2 separate regions of the Homo sapiens genome follow, and region 1 is linked to region 2. Evidence: promoter capture Hi-C in 16 types of primary human blood cells and fetal thymus (Javierre and others, 2016). All regions are on one chromosome and are shown on one strand. Each heading gives the region's core, a stretch centred on a gene start or on the middle of the fragment in contact. The rest is flanking DNA. Distances are from core to core; before and after follow the strand shown.

The links. The method cuts DNA at HindIII sites, captures the fragments that hold promoters and counts their contacts. A CHiCAGO score of 5 or more calls a contact.
Region 1: a contact is called between a fragment that was not itself captured here and the fragment with the promoter of FOXP1 in region 2, in 10 of 17 cell types (naive B cells, total B cells, activated CD4 T cells and 7 more). The highest score is 9.6, in naive B cells.

What each region holds. Positions count from the first base shown.
Region 1 is chr3:71,300,039-71,303,514 of GRCh38, reverse strand. The region is part of intron 4 of FOXP1 (forkhead box P1); the gene reads left to right. FOXP1-AS1 (FOXP1 antisense RNA 1) reads right to left here. Exons shown (of 5, transcript NR_126463.1): 4 at 655-787. Among named protein-coding and RNA genes, the nearest start is that of FOXP1-AS1, 12 kb to the right of the region's middle. The HindIII fragment of the contact is 1,991 bases long and covers 1,013-3,003 here.
Region 2 is chr3:71,582,125-71,585,725 of GRCh38, reverse strand. FOXP1 (forkhead box P1) reads left to right here and starts at 1,998. Exons shown (of 21, transcript NM_001349338.3): 1 at 1,998-2,155. FOXP1-DT (FOXP1 divergent transcript) reads right to left here and starts at 783. Exons shown (of 1, transcript NR_182289.1): 1 at 1-783. RefSeq lists an enhancer at 1,514-1,808 and a silencer at 1,886-2,125. The HindIII fragment of the contact is 2,384 bases long and covers 741-3,124 here.

The sequences.
Region 1 (3,476 bases), core at 759-3,258, 280 kb after region 2:
AACTCTTGGAAATTGGCCTATTTGGACCAGTTTTTGCAAATGAGTACAGGCCATTTGATTGGAGGATTTGGGGGTATGGGAAGTTTGAACCATGTTCCTTCCTCAGTTTCCTAGTAAGAAAGTGTCCTCTAGCCATAGACCTACTGAACTGCCCCCCATCACCACCCAGGGGCTTGCTTTGCTCATCTTTGCATCTTTATTAAGACTGGTACACAATAGGTTCTCAGCCAGTATTGGGTAGGCTGAAGATTGAGATGAACTATGTTGGGCATACTTCAGAGTTGCTTTTGCACAATTATATAAAATGAAATATAATGCAGAAATCTTAATGCAGATAATTTATTTTAGCTGTCAAGAAAGGGAAGGGGGAAATACTATAAATGGGGAAAAAAAGAGCTGATACTCTTCATTTTCAGTTTTGTGAAATGAGATTGCACCTCCACATTTACCTGCAACTCAGTTCCAAGTAGGACATACTAGTGGACACCGTGTATTATATGTCACACAGATTAAATTAAGGGCAAAATATATCCATAGAAAGTATGATATTGAAATACTGCAATAATCTGAGGGTTCTTTAGAATAACAGTCCTAATTAGGGAGGAGGGGTGGTTGGGGAGGTAGAGAAAGAGGAATGTACATTTAGTGTCTCACCCTAGAGTTCGCAGTAGAAATTTGGTGTCCTGGACATGGTTTTTGTGGTCACTGTGTAACTTCAGGTAAATGATACTGTTGCAATCAATAGTGAAGAGGCCATGGAACAATTCTGGTGTTCACAGGATCTTAACTGTTACAGAGAATGACATAAAGGAAAATAAGTAATTTCTGTTTACCATATCCTTGGCTCACTTTTAAAACCTAAAACCAGTAGGAAACTTAAAAAAGAAAGAGAAAAAGAAAAAAAAACGCAATTCGTATGGAGACAGCATTTTTTAAAAGAAGACAAGTGGGCTGGAGGGGAATGTATTTCTTTTATCTTTATCTTTTTTTTTTTTTTTTTTACATAAAAGCTTTGCATAATCATTTAATTTTAGTTTTGGTGCTTGTGCTGCCAGTAAGCATACAGGTAAATAGTTGATCTATTTGATAAGTAAAAGTGATTTAAAGAAAATAGCAAATATAGTATTGGAAAGGGAAGTTGTATGCTTTGGAAAAAATGAAATGCCTATTTTTCTGCTAGTTGTTGGTTTCCAATTCTTCTAAGCTAGTAATGAGGCAGACTCGGGCCCCAGTACTAGCCCTAATTTTCTTGTCTATTATATTGACACATTTCATTTACTTTAGCATGATGGCAAACAGCTGTTGAACTATTAATCTTTTTCTCAGCAAAACTAGAAAAATGTCTGTTAGATTACTTTGTTAATGTTATACCTTCTCTAAAAATGAAAATCAACAGAAATAAATTAATGAGTGGCCAATCGTGCATGTGCACCAAAATTTATGGAACTTCAAAATGGAGAAAGATAGAGATTATATCCCACTGCCCATTTTTTATGTATAAGTGAAAATTAAATGTAGTCAGTTTCGTATTGTTTTAGTATTTATAAATTGGATGGTCAGTTGTATAATTTTGTTGTAATTCTTTCCCCAGTATCCCTAGGGGAAAAAAATGATACTGGTTAAATCTGAGGCTGAATCAGCTTCTATTTTTGTTCTGTGTTCACTTACACACTATACTGTGTGGATAGGTGAGTAGAAAAACAGGTCTAGTGTTTACCTGAAAGTGTTCCGCAGGTTCAAATGCAGCACTGGAGATAACTTTATTCGAAGGAGGCATTTTCAGCAGTTTTTTAAAAAAATTAAATTTTAATGAGGTCCAGTTGTTTGCCAGGCCTATATGATGGCAAATCTCATCTGCATTGCAAAGTCTAATACTATAGGTCTGACTGCCAAACATGCAAAAATAGACACAGCTCAATAGATAAACATATAAATTAGTTTACAGTGCATGTATTGGAGAACATCTCAAGTAAAAAGGAGAGAGGAAAAGGCGTTCTTGCTTTGAATTGAGTAGGATCTGCCAAAGTTCACTTGCTTTACATTTAAGATTTGATGAGTGGTAGATGTAGAAATTTCTGTGTGCGCTTTGTATCTACTGAGCTCTGATTTGTGTAGAGTGGGGCTCTGCAGATCTTAGCTCTACCTTGAGGACCTGACCATCTTTGCTCTGTTTTTCTTTCTTATCGTTGCTTGCCCTGAAATAGACTTCTCACTACTGGAGAAACCAATCTTGGGGACATACATCAGCAGTAAAGCACACGATTTTCATTTTCAATTTGAATTGTTTTGTGTAAAAACAAAAAGGTTTTGGTCAGGCTGCAAAATAGTAATTTTAAGTCCCAGAGCTAGGGTTTTCCCCCACCCAAATGGTGAAAATTTATGGTGAAAACCTCCAATTTCCTCTTACAGTAAACATGAAAATTATGATTTCACTCAGAGCCTGCGTCTTTTTCCAATCTTAATGGCAAGAATCTGCATACACTTGCTTGTGGAAATGTCATAAATTGGCCTCGGATCAATTCCTCAAAGATAGTACACACCAAAGTGCCACTTTCAAATTTTTAGCCCTCGTGAAATAAGATTTTACTCTTCTCAATGATGTTTGCCTTTCCACATTCAGGGCTGACAGCAGAGGGATGAGCAGGGATATATTCCTATAAAATTAAACCACTTCATTACATGCTATTCTGAAGAGTGAGCAAAAAGATATTAACATTTTGGTAAAATGATGATATGATTTCGCCACCTTAAAAATTATATGAGCATTTGGTCAATGGATATGGAATGAATCCTGTACCCTCTTAGTAACTTGATCTAAATTAATAAACAAATGTTTTTCTTTTCACTCGTGCCATATGTTGATCCCAGTTACATGGGCAGAAAGAGGCAGCTTGTAATGTTTCTTAAAGGATTAAACACTGTTTTGCATACGGGAGTATGCAGATGCAGGAGTAGGATGTGGGGTAAAATGTGTTCCATGGTTTCTTTGTGTTTTAGGAAGCTTGATTTCAATTGTTTGTTTCATGTGACATGAACCCTTTTTAATTTAACTTAGTAGCTCCGGTAGATACATGGTAAGAGAAAAACATTCTGTGAACAGCTTTCGCCAGCAATTAACTCCCTGCCCCTCCCCAAAGTGAAAATGGTGCTGCTTTCATTCATTTTGAAAGGTCCGAAGTGGCAGAAAGCATCTTGTCTACAAGACCTAACTCTCTTCCAAAAGGGGAAAAAAATAAGTCTTTGCTTTAATGAAATAAGAGATGTTGTGGATATTAACCAAACAGAGACACGTTCAAGTGGCAGTCTGGTTTCCAAAAACAGAGGCCTATGAGTCACATATTATTCTCCATGAAAATAAATCGATAGACAACAAGATGAGAAAAAGTTGATACACAACATTTGAAATGTTTCACCTTGACTTTTCCCCACCAAGTCAATTTTGTTGTCTTGAAGAGCTCAAAGGCATATGGTCCAGA
Region 2 (3,601 bases), core at 749-3,248:
CATGGAACTTTATGCAGCATGCATGCAATGTGAATTCTACCAGGCTGAAATTACCTTAGCAGCCTCCCTTTCTTTTATTCTGTAGCATCAGCGAATGGCTTTGTTATTTTTTTTTTTTAACTTGCGAAAGATACAATTTCAAAGCGATAGTCTTATGCCACCCTTGAAATTAAGATTTAAGTTCTTCTGTAAATTAATGTTTAACAATATTTGTAAAGGGGCATTACGCGAAAGAATTTAATAATAACCTTTTCAGGATATTATCTACAACTGTGCTGGTCTCAAGACCAAAGGGACAGTAAGCCTCTCCCCTCCCCGCAAGGGGAAGTACTTTGTAGGAATCCACAGGGGTGACTTTTAATATATTCTCATAAAGAATTGGCCTGGTGTACACCAGCCAGCCAGTAGCTGGAAATGCTGGTTTGGGAGTCTGGCCACTTCTGTGGTGGTGGGTCTGAAAAAATTTACTTCTGTTAACAACAACAACAACAACAACAACAAGACATAGAGGTCTTACAGCTTTCCAAGTCACGTTTTGGAAACACATACTCTGCTTCCTTCTCTATGCGTATTGATAAAAGTGAAAGAAATACTAGTGTCTTTTGTTTTATGTATGTATATTTCAAAACATTTAATTCAGGCTCTTAGTTTATTCCTTCGAATTTCTAAATTCAACCAAACTTCAAAAACCGCAAAAAGAAAAAAAAAAATCTCACCTTTTCAAAGAATTGGACAAAGCTTTTTGCACGTGACTGATCACTGGGAGAGCAGGTAATTTGTGTTAAACAACGGACTGACATGCTAGCCCCCAGGCGTTTTCCTAAGAGGAGTCGTGGCAAGAACACAGTTCCTGATGCAGCCACCTTCCCCCAAAGTGGACTCGATTGCACATTCCTGCAGTGGCTCTGACAAGGGGGCAGAAGCTCGTCCCACATTCACACTCTCCTGATTCCGAGAAACAGGGGAGAAAACCCCTCGCTGGCTGGCGGGGTTTCTGTTTCCTTGCAAACAGGGGTTTGTCCTTCTGCTGAACTTTCACCTCCCGAACTCGCCTTCTTTCATTGGACAAAGTGCAGAAAGAAAGAGGAGAGACCGAGGGAGGACGGGAGAGAGGGAGAAAGGGGGTTGAAAACACCACCTCCCACCCCGCTCTCCTTCAACTGTCACTGATGGCAAAACACTTTCACTTTTAACTGGAGGAAACTCACATTCTAGCCTGTCCTCTCCCCTCCCTTTCATATTTTTAGCTCAGAATCCAAGCAAATAGCCATCGCATTCCCATCTTCGTCCCTAGTTAACACTCTCCCTTCTCGTTTTTTCCGCTGTCTGAATGGGCCCCCCATTTCCCATCTCCTGAGGAATCTCCCCCTCCGCCCCCCTGCCCCTTATTTTCCAGGTCTTTCCTGCCAGATCCCTCTGTTGCCAGGGACTGCTCTGGCGTTCCCTTCCTCTCTCTGGTCCGCGGGGCTCTGCCTCCCTCTCCTCTTTCCAATCCTGCCTGGACGCCCCTCACTTCCCCCTCCCTGGATCCCTCCCCCCAACCCCCCCCCCCATTCTTTGGCAATTGCGATTTTTTTTTTCTGGGAGCCCGGTTGTTTACCCAGCAGGTGGATGTGACGTCAGGGACGCACAACAGCAAAAAATAACAACATCTCCCTCCGCGACGTGTTGGCCTCTCTCGCGCGCCTTATTTATTTATTTGTTCCGGGATGTCGGGGGGGAGGGGGGAGGGAGGAGGGGGGTGGGCGCCAGCGCCCCGGCGAACGGCAAAGAGGGAGCCGCTCCCGCTCGGGGGGCCGCTGGAGTGCCCAGCGGGGTGCGTGAAGCGGAGAGGGGACCCCTGCGGGAGGTAGAGGGTCGGGCCGGGGTGCGCCCCCGGGCCGGTGCTGCCCGCGCCTCTGCCGCCGCCGCCGCCGCCACCGGCGCTGGCTGGGCTCCGGGAAGCTAGTCCGGAGCGGAGGAATCTATTGTTATTTATTGTGTGGCGGTTGCACGCTGTACTCGCGGCGGCCCGGCCCTCGCCCGGGAGTGCGTGTGTGCGCGCGTGTGTGCGCGAGTGAGTGTGTGCGCGGGGTGCGCGCGCGGGCGGGAGTGGGCGCGCGCGGGGAAAGGCCCGAAAACACCTTAGTTTGCACCGAGAGACCATTTGCAGCGGGTGAGTTTGTATTTTTCCATTTCTGCTCCACTTTTTCCCAAGCCGCCTCCTGTCTTGTTTCCGCCACTTTAAACAACAACAACAACCAGCACAAAAAAAAAAAAAGAAAGAAAGAAAAAGAGAAAAAAAATGGAAAAAAAAAAACAACTACTTTCCACCTCCAGGCTCCACGTGCATCTCCCCCAGCCCTCCCCTCTCTTCCTCTCCCCCCCGGGTCGAGGCCCAGCTCTGGGATGGGTGGGGGCTGCGGGCCGGCGCGCGGGTGGAGGGAGCTCCGGCGGCGCCCGCACCCTTTGGGTTTATTTGCATAAGTCAAATGGGGGCGGGGGCGGTGGCGACTGTGAGGAGGCGAGATCGCCTGCCCGTAGGCCCCTTCACGCCTCTCTCTGCGCTCTCCACGATCGCCTAGGGGAGAGAAATCAATAAGCCCAGGCCGCCTGGCGCAACTTTCGATGTCCGGCGTTGGCGTCCGGTGGCCGCCCGGGCGCGGGGCCGGTGCGGGGTCCCGGGTCCTGGCCGCGGCGGGAGGGGGCGCGCGCCGGGCGCCTCCTAGGCCCAAAGTTTAGACTTGGAGCAAACTTTTCCCCTTCTTTCCCCGCGGGTGTGTGCCCCCTCGGTGCCCTTGAGCTGCCCCGCGGGCCCCAGCAAACTGACTGTGGTGCCTGGCCCTGGGCCCCGCACTGGGGAACTTCCCCGCTGCCACGCGCGCGTTACCCCGAGAGTCAGCGGCGAGGAAGCTCTCCCGCCACCCCCTCGGAGCCCGGAAAATTCAAACACGCACCTGCGCACCCCCAGCCAGACACGCACCCCTACGCGCGCTCGGCCTCCGCTTTCCCGAGACGAGTCCGCAACAGCCGTGGCCAGATCCACGGGTGGGTGCGGGAGCCGGATGCGCTGCGAGGAGTCGCCGCGCCCGGATCTCTCTCCCACCATCACACACATTTTCTGATTTTACCCCCCTCTGAAGCTTGGGGGACGGGGAGATTTCCCAAGCTCCGATTTGTCCTGCGTCGCGCGCGTGTCGCCTCGTCCCTCCGGCCCTGTCCTGGCGGCCGATGGCTCTCCGTCCCTCGCTTGCGCGCAGCCTTCCTCCCGAGCTCCCTGCGCTCTATTCCTGTCCCGCCGAGACGACTCCCTGGAGCCAGCGAGCCGAGGCGGCGTGCGCTTCGAGTGGGGACCACGGCGGTGGCGGCGGCGCCGGGAGCCGAGGAGTTTGCCAGTTGCCGCGGGGTCGCGGTCATTTGCTGCCTCCGCCTTCCCTCGCCCCCGCCTCCCGCCTCCCTCCTTTTCAGACAACGTCGCGCTCGGAAACTTAGATTCCTTCTTCTTTTTGGCCCTCGACGAGCCCCCCTCCCCACCTGTTGTGAGCTCCGCCTTGGTCCCGGGAGACTGGCAGTGACACACACGGGCTCTGGGGAGCTCCGCTCCCGGAAACAAAGTCGCATG